Regions from separate parts of the Homo sapiens genome. Here regions 2 and 3 are each linked to region 1. The links are contacts of gene promoters, found by promoter capture Hi-C in blood cells and fetal thymus (Javierre and others, 2016). All regions are on one chromosome and are shown on one strand. The core of a region is centred on a gene start or on the middle of the fragment in contact, and the rest is flanking DNA. Distances in the headings are between cores, read along the strand shown.

Region 1 (2,753 bases), core at 171-2,670:
GATCACAAGGTCAGGAGATCGAGACCATCCTGGCTAACACGGTGAAACCCCGTCTCTACTAAAAATACAAAAAATTAGCTGGGCGTGGTGGCAGGCGCCTGTAGTCCCAGCGACTGGGGAGGCTGAGGCAGGAGAATAGCGTGAACCCAGGAGGCGGAGTTTGCAGTGAGCGGAGATCGCACCATTGCACTCCAGCCTGGGCGACAGAGCGAGACTCCGTCTCAAAAAAATAAATAAATAAATAAAAAATAATGTGTATTTTATCAATTCAGTGATAAAGCAGACCTTTGTAAACTGTCTAGCTTGTGGTGACTGATTGAGGGTATCATGAAGCTCCGCGCCCCCCCACTCCCCGACATACTCGTTCATCCTCCTCTGTCCTAAAGCGTACTTCTTTGGAAAAGTAGAGCAGTTTATGTTAGTGTACACTAGAGATGGTAAACTATGCCTTGTGGGTCAAATCGGGCCTGCTGCCTGTGTTTGTATGGCCTGTGAGCAAAGAAAGGTTTTTACATATTTAAATGGTTGGAAAAAATATTTAAAGAATGCTATTTTTGGACACAAAAAATTGTATGAAATTAAAATTTCAATGTCTGTATCTTTTTATTGGGACACAGCCACCGCCATTCCTTTAGCTTTTGTATGCAACAGCTGCAGAGTTGACTATTTGAGACAAGTTGTATGGTCCCCCCAAACTGGAACTGTTTCCATTCTGGCCTTCTACAGAAAGTATTTGGACCCTGGCCTAGATAAATCCTGGCTGGTGGTTATGTTATGTGAAATGTGCACACTGTAAAATATAGGCCTGTATGATTAAAATTTTTGATTTCAGCTACTGTTCATAGTCGATTTAAAGGGCAATTTAATTTACAGCAAATCCAGTTTCTCGGAGATTTGTGTTGGGGCTTTGGCAGCAAAAAAAAATCCTAGGAGTAATCTTGAGAGTTCCATGCCCCCTAGTGGATTGCTATAGGGTTTACTTTTAAATTTTCAAAACACTGAATTGGCCAAGGATTTCCTTGGTCCATATTATCCCAAGGGTCAGAGGCTGAAGGTCGCCTAGACCTGGGCAGATGCTCACAGGTACTGTCGTGGCCTGGGCAAATCTAGGCACGTCAGCGCTCATTTCTATTCCCTTTCCCACATTCCAGCAAACGAGACTAGGCTTGAAGGGACCCACCCTCCTCTCCTCTGATTCCTCGTGACGCCGCACTCCTCTTACTCTCCCCGGGGCTCATCCGGGGGAATGGGGCAGATTATGTCCCACCGGTTGGACAAACTAACGAGGGCGGGGAAAGGAAAAAAAAAATCAGAATAGGAAGCCAATCAGAGCTCGGTACAAGCCCAGCCAATCGGGTCGGGTCAATTGGGGCTTAGCCAATCGGGCTCGATGAGGAAGACGTGAGTCAGAGCTTGCGCCTCTCGCTTCCAGCTGTGGGTGGCGCTAGGCAGCTTCAGCCGGACCGGGTAGGGGTCCTCGCTCGCTAGCTTGCTGTTTCTCGGAGAAGCTCCCGAGTGTCCGGCCTAGAGGCCATGAGAAGGCAGTGGGGGTCTGCCATGAGGGCGGCCGAGCAGGCGGGCTGCATGGTGAGCGCCTCCCGGGCCGGACAGCCCGAGGCGGGCCCGTGGAGCTGCAGCGGGGTAATCCTGAGCCGTAGCCCGGGCCTGGTGCTTTGCCACGGGGGCATCTTCGTCCCCTTCCTGCGAGCTGGCAGCGAAGTCCTGACCGCGGCCGGCGCCGTCTTCCTGCCTGGCGACAGTTGCAGGGACGACCTGCGCCTGCACGTGCAGTGGGCCCCAACGGCCGCGGGTCCCGGGGGCGGCGCGGAGCGGGGCCGCCCAGGGCTGTGCACGCCCCAGTGCGCGAGCCTCGAGCCCGGCCCACCTGCCCCGTCCCGCGGGCGTCCCCTGCAGCCCCGGCTTCCTGCTGAGCTGCTGCTGCTGCTGAGCTGCCCGGCCTTCTGGGCCCACTTCGCGCGCCTCTTCGGGGACGAGGCAGCGGAACAGTGGCGCTTCTCGAGCGCGGCGCGGGATGACGAAGTGTCGGAGGACGAGGAGGCGGATCAACTGAGAGCGCTGGGCTGGTTTGCGCTGCTGGGCGTGCGGCTAGGCCAGGAGGAGGTGGAGGAGGAGCGCGGGCCAGCCATGGCGGTGTCGCCTCTCGGGGCCGTGCCCAAGGGTGCGCCATTGCTGGTCTGCGGCTCCCCTTTCGGCGCCTTCTGCCCCGACATCTTTCTCAACACGCTGAGCTGCGGGGTGCTCAGCAACGTGGCCGGCCCACTGCTGCTTACCGACGCACGCTGCCTGCCCGGCACCGAGGGCGGCGGCGTGTTCACCGCGCGGCCCGCGGGGGCGCTGGTGGCGCTGGTGGTGGCGCCGCTCTGTTGGAAGGCCGGCGAATGGGTGGGCTTCACGCTGCTCTGCGCCGCCGCCCCCCTTTTCCGCGCCGCCCGCGACGCGCTTCACCGCCTGCCGCACAGCACCGCTGCCCTGGCCGCCCTTCTGCCGCCAGAGGTGGGCGTCCCGTGGGGTCTGCCCCTCCGAGACTCCGGGCCCCTGTGGGCAGCCGCGGCAGTGTTGGTGGAGTGCGGCACCGTATGGGGCTCCGGAGTGGCTGTGGCACCCCGCCTTGTAGTGACCTGTCGGCACGTGTCCCCTCGGGAAGCAGCCAGGGTCCTGGTGCGCTCCACCACCCCCAAGTAAGCCCGCAGGGCTGACGCCACTTCATCCCTTTCCAGGTCTCAGATCTGGGT
Region 2 (2,700 bases), core at 59-2,558, 260 kb before region 1:
CCAAACCACATTCACTGTGCACAACCATCAAATCTCTGAAGTGCTAATAAACCAACAAAGACAATTTTTATCTTAACAAAAGAAACAGGGCTGGGCATGGTGGTTCAATCCCAGCACTCTGGGAGGCCGAGGTGGGCGGATCACTTGAGGTCAGGAGTTCGAGACCAGCCTGGCCAACATGGTAAAACCCCATCTCTACTAAAAATACAAAAATCAGCCACGCGTGGTGGTGGGCGCCCGTAATCCCAGCTACTCAGGAGGCTGAGGCAGGAGAATCACTTGAACCCAGGAGGCGGAGGTTGCGGTGAGCCAAGATGGCGCCATTGCACTCCAGCCTGGGCAACAAGAGTGAAACTCTGTCTCAAAGAAAGAAAGAAAAAAAAAAGCAGCTCCCTTCACCCCCAATACTCTTTATTTTGGTATAGTTCACTTTCACTCCCAGTGGATTATTTTCCCTTCTTCCTGCTTTCTCCTTTTTTCCAAACCCATCCAATGACCTTTATGAAATTCTGTCCCAATGAACCAATCATATCAACTATCCAAGAGGCAGAAGAGCTACAACCCAGACAAAATTTCAGACCATCACAGTTAGTTCCCCTCTGCTGCCCTTGTTATGGTAACAGCATACTTTTCCATGGCTGATGAGAACTCTGTGAAGGAAAAGAAAGGCAAAGAGAAAGGGTAAAAGAGGTGTCTCTGTTTCTGCTCATTCCGCAGAGCAAAACAACTCTTCTAAAAGGGGGCAGTTCAGCACCTAGAAAGGAAATAAGGTAGCGGAAAGAATCATATTAGCTAGCATTCCAGAGGTAGAAAAGTCTCTTTAAATGTTTGCAAACTTCCTTTCCTAGTAAGATAAGCATCTCAAAACAGTAGAGGAAAAAACTGGAATAGTGATCAGGATACTAAATTTGAGGGACTCACGGACAATAATTAGCTGTTTAATACTAACAAGTTACTTAACTTCTCTGGGTCCCAATTTCTCTCAATAATAAAATGAAAGCATTAGGTTTCTTCTAGGTCACTAGTGTTATTAAAAGTGGAGCCAACTATAGTAACTTTACCTTCCTTTGAGGGCAGAGGTAGCTTCTCAATGGAAGAACCAAATATCATCCCCACTCCTCCACAGGCAGATAGAAAAAAAAATAAAATCCAAGAGCTTTTTTTTTGGCCTGGAATTTGCCCAACAAAAAGTTTCCTCTTCCTTCATAAGGAGAAAGGGTACTCTTCCAGCAATATGAGAAATCCAAGAGGTTACAGCAAGTGTGTTTTCACCCACTTCTCACTTCCCAAACCACAGAAAGACAATTTTGAGAAAGCTCAAGGGTAAGCTGTATCTCCTGTGATCCCCAATGAATAAAGAACTCTTCAAGGGGGAGAAACTCTAAGTTTGCTATGCTGTGAATGTCCCTGCTCAGTCTGATCATTTAGGGCATTCGGTCCATCAACTGTTGTTATGCTGGAATGCTCTGACATGTATGTGACCCTCCAGAAGATTTCTAGAAGTTTGAGGCAGGAAATGTTAATCCCCTCCCTTACCACTAAATAGAGATTTCCAATACAAGCCTATCACTCATTTTTCTAAATGTTTTCAAGTCTGAAATATATGTTAGCACTTGACTCTACTCTTTCAGAACTAAAAATCTTATCTGTCTGCCCCTACCCCCAAATCAAGAATTTAAACCTGTTCAGACCAAGGACTGTATTTCCTACTTTTGTCTGTTGTCCCCTTTTGTGCGAACCACTCCCCTGGGCACACAAAATTTACTAACGATACCTAACCATATTAATCCAGGAGTCTGGAGGTGGCCAGATAACAAACTATTGCACCCTGGTTGAGGGAAATAAAATTACATGATGAGAGGAAGATGAATGTAGCATTAGAGATACACAAACCGTCAGAGGGGGAAGTTAAATCAGTAAGTAAAGAACACCTAAACAGTATTCATTGCTGTAATAGTGATTAAATCCAACTGCAACGGCACCATGTCCTTATAAAGATATTAAATAAGCCCTCATGTTAAAAATCCACTGATTACAGCCAGGCGCAGTGGCTGACGCCTGTACTCCCAGCACTTTGGGAGGCCGAGGCGGGCAGATCACGAGGTCAGAAGATTAAGACCATCCTGGCTAAGCCGCCCCGTCCGGGAGGTGAGGGGCGCCTCTGCCCGGCCGCCCCTACTGGGAAGTGAGGAGACCCTGTGCCCGGCCAGCCGCCCCGTCCAGGAAGGAGGTGGGGGGGTCAGCCCCCCGCCCGGCCAGCCGCCCCGTCCGGGAGGGAGGTGGGGGGGGTCAGCCCCCCGCCTGGCCAGCCGCCCCGTCCGGGAGGTGAGGGGCGCTCTGCCCGGCCGCCCCTACTGGGAAGTGAGGAGCCCTCTGCCCGGCCAGCCGCCCCGTCCAGGAAGGAGGTGGGGGGGTCAGCCCCCCGCCCGGCCAGCCGCCCCGTCCGGGAGGGAGGTGGGGGGGTCAGCCCCCCGCCCGGCCAGCCGCCCCGTCCAGGAGGTGAGGGGCGCCTCTGCCCGGCCGCTCCTACTGGGAAGTGAGGAGCCCCTCTGCCCGGCCAGCCGCCCCATCCGGGAGGGAGGTGGGGGGTCAGCCCCCCGCCCGGCCAGCCGCCCCATCTGGGAGGTGAGGGGTGCCTCTGCCCGGCCGCCCCTACTGGGAAGTGAGGAGCCCCTCTGCCCGGCCAGCCGCCCCGTCTGG
Region 3 (2,700 bases), core at 89-2,588, 280 kb before region 1:
GGGGTTACAGTGAGCCGAGGTCGCACCACTGCACTCCAGCCTGGGCAACAGAGCAAGATTCAGTCTCAAAAAAAAAAAAGTCTTCATTAGCAGTAAGATCCTTACCTATCCTAATTGCCTTTAGGGCAGAGTAAAGGATGTAGGAAAGCGCTTTTAAGGTTTTGGTCCCATCTTCCCTTAAAGAGATCCTTTAGTCCTTCTATAGGTTCCATGAGTAGGTGGTAGCTGCAGTGCTCAAACCTGTTCCATTCCTAAACTTACACACTTGGAGGGAAGAGGAGAGGGGGCTGAATAATCTCTGGGTGTCCATGTCAACCGGGCTGTGCTTGAGTCCCTTAAATACTGTTTCCTGAGCTGAGTATACTAGGCACTGGGCTCTTTATGACATCAACTGGGCCTGACAACCACCTAGAAAAGTTGTTTCTTAACCTTATTTTAGAGAAAACTGAGGCTTGTAGAATAAGAATTCTGCTGGGTAATTTGGCTACTAAGCAGCACAGCTGGAACTGAAGCTGCCTGACTCCAAAGCCTGTGCCCTAAACCCCTAGACAGTTCCGATGGGAAAGCTTCCTCCAGTCCAGTTTTATTCTGTGGACCTCTGTGCACGTGAAAGAATTCTCATTCTCAGGACTAATACATGAAACCCGCTGGATTAGTTAACAGCAGGGAATCTGACGCTCATGCAGCACAGCTTGGTTTGAGGTAACAGGCATGATGGGCATCTAACCAGTGCTCCCAGGGGCACAGGCAGCCCCTCTTCTGAGAAAGGAAAAGTTGTTTGGGCTTCCTCAGGGCTGGCACTTAAGAGAAGGACATGCTTGGGTGCCGTCAGCCCAGCATATACATGTTCACCTGCAAGCTCCTGAGCACAGGACCAGGGTCATGCTCCCTGAGAGTCCCACCATCTCCTTTGCATACACAGGTCCACATTGACAAAGTGCATGCTCCGCAAGTGTGGAGAACTGACAGATAAAGAGCCAACTGCCTCTTACCTCTGCCCATCTCCCCCACCAGCTGAAACTCCTGAAATGTGAAATAACCTTAGCAGGATTTCACCAGAAATTTTTAAAAAATTAAAACACCAAGTTGATACTCAAGATCTTTACTGATTTAACTATAACAGCAACCATTGATGAGAATTTAATTTTTTCCTTAATTTCCAAACATCTGCTGGTTTGGAAGAATAGTTAAAATACAAAAACAACTGATCATGGAATCACACAGGACTGCCTCAAGGACTGCGTGGTACCCTCTGCTATCCATCCACACACAGTGAAATGGATGGGAGGGATGAGGGAACAACACATCATGGGAGACAAAGGGAAGACCAAGGAAAGTGCTGGCAGTCTCCGCTTTTCCATTCAGAATGGATGGAACTGGGCCGTTAGTGGCACTAAGACAGGGCAGGGCTATTTTTTTTTTTAAATAAAATATTTTAAAGATGCATAAAATGGACACCTTAGCACGTGAGTGTCCTCTGGGCTCTTCAAGACACCTTCTTTAAGGTTTACCCCTGGAGTAGCAGAGGGTCTCCTCACCCAGGTGGAAAGAGATGGGCTCCATCTGCAGATGAAGGAAAGGCACTGGCGCACAGCACTCAGCAATGTAGATACAGGCACCAGGTAGGAGCAGGATGGCTTACCCAGCAACCTGCCTCTTAGCTCCCTGCTAGTGTTCTTCCCTCCTCCCCAGTTTCCAGTTAAAAGTACCCTTGGCCTGGGCTTTAAAAAAAAAAAAAAAAAAAAGATTAAGCTGGAGAGAAAGGGGATACACTTGGGCAAGAATGGATATTTTGTGCTAGATTCATGGAATTTTCTAAGTGTCCAGGAGTTTTGGTTTTAAGCACCGGCAAGAGCTCCCTTTGGAAATTTCAGTGTGGCCAAATGATTATCAAGCATTGCAGCATCTCTGCCAGCCTCCCACCCTTAGAAAGGTGGCAGAGTGAGAGTTTAAATACCCTTGGAAATGTGTTTCATCTCAGTAATATTTCCACTGGGTATCCATGACATACAGTATGGTCTGCCAGGGCTGCAGGCAGAGAGCCATAAGCAAAGAGAATCCACAGACCCGCTGAACAGGGACTCAAGCCTTCTCCTAAATCTAAGCTTTGCCAAAAGGTTATCAACTTCCAGGACCAGCCTAGAGAAATAAATTTAAATTCCAGAGAGTAGGCTAGGTGATGTAAGTGACTGACTGAAAAAACAAGTATCAATAACTCTTAAAGTTTTCAGTTAGAAATTTCTGTAAGTTAGCCTCAAGAAACTCCACTACTAAACTGGAAAACCATGACTAGGAACAGGAAGCGGCCCTGGGGTAGAAGCATTCTAAAGAATTGTGACCCAACTGCATCAATATCTGATTTCATCTTTTATTAAAAGCTGAGAGTTAAAGAACTGTAGGGATAACTAAGTCCACCTCAAAGTCCAGACAGAAACTGCCCTCCCAAAGAAACAATGTTTCTTTAAAACAAATACCACACCTTCCCAGATATTATGGGTAGGTAAGTGACTAGGTTTTGCAGATTAATCTATAGCTGCCCATGTGCATGTAGTCCAGAAAACATGCCAAGAAGGAAGAGCTCTGAACCAGACACAGAAAGGCAGTGTGGCTTCCTCGCTCAAGGGGAATGCAAAGGGCTAAGAGCCCTGGCTTCAAGCAGCTGTTATCCTAGATGAGGAAAATGCAAACAGATTCAATCTC

What was found. The method cuts DNA at HindIII sites, captures the fragments that hold promoters and counts their contacts. A CHiCAGO score of 5 or more calls a contact.
Region 2: a fragment that was not itself captured here is called in contact with the fragment with the promoter of TYSND1 in region 1 in 9 of 17 cell types (neutrophils, non-activated CD4 T cells, naive CD4 T cells and 6 more); the score reaches 10.8 in neutrophils.
Region 3: a contact is called between a fragment that was not itself captured here and the fragment with the promoter of TYSND1 in region 1, in 1 of 17 cell types (neutrophils). The highest score is 5.5, in neutrophils.

The regions. Positions count from the first base shown.
Region 1 is chr10:70,145,367-70,148,119 of GRCh38, reverse strand. TYSND1 (trypsin like peroxisomal matrix peptidase 1) reads left to right here and starts at 1,420. Exons shown (of 4, transcript NM_173555.4): 1 at 1,420-2,699. The coding sequence starts at 1,534. SAR1A (secretion associated Ras related GTPase 1A) reads left to right here. Exons shown (of 7, transcript NM_020150.5): 7 at 1-831. RefSeq lists silencers at 1,649-1,958, 2,289-2,518 and an enhancer at 2,109-2,158. The HindIII fragment of the contact is 18,251 bases long and covers 1-2,753 here.
Region 2 is chr10:70,407,750-70,410,449 of GRCh38, reverse strand. All of the region lies in intron 1 of EIF4EBP2 (eukaryotic translation initiation factor 4E binding protein 2), which reads right to left. Among named protein-coding and RNA genes, the nearest start is that of EIF4EBP2, 5.0 kb to the right of the region's middle. The HindIII fragment of the contact is 7,442 bases long and covers 1-2,700 here.
Region 3 is chr10:70,427,005-70,429,704 of GRCh38, reverse strand. EIF4EBP2 (eukaryotic translation initiation factor 4E binding protein 2) reads right to left here. Exons shown (of 3, transcript NM_004096.5): 3 at 1,087-2,700. Among named protein-coding and RNA genes, the nearest start is that of NODAL, 13 kb to the left of the region's middle. The HindIII fragment of the contact is 1,539 bases long and covers 569-2,107 here.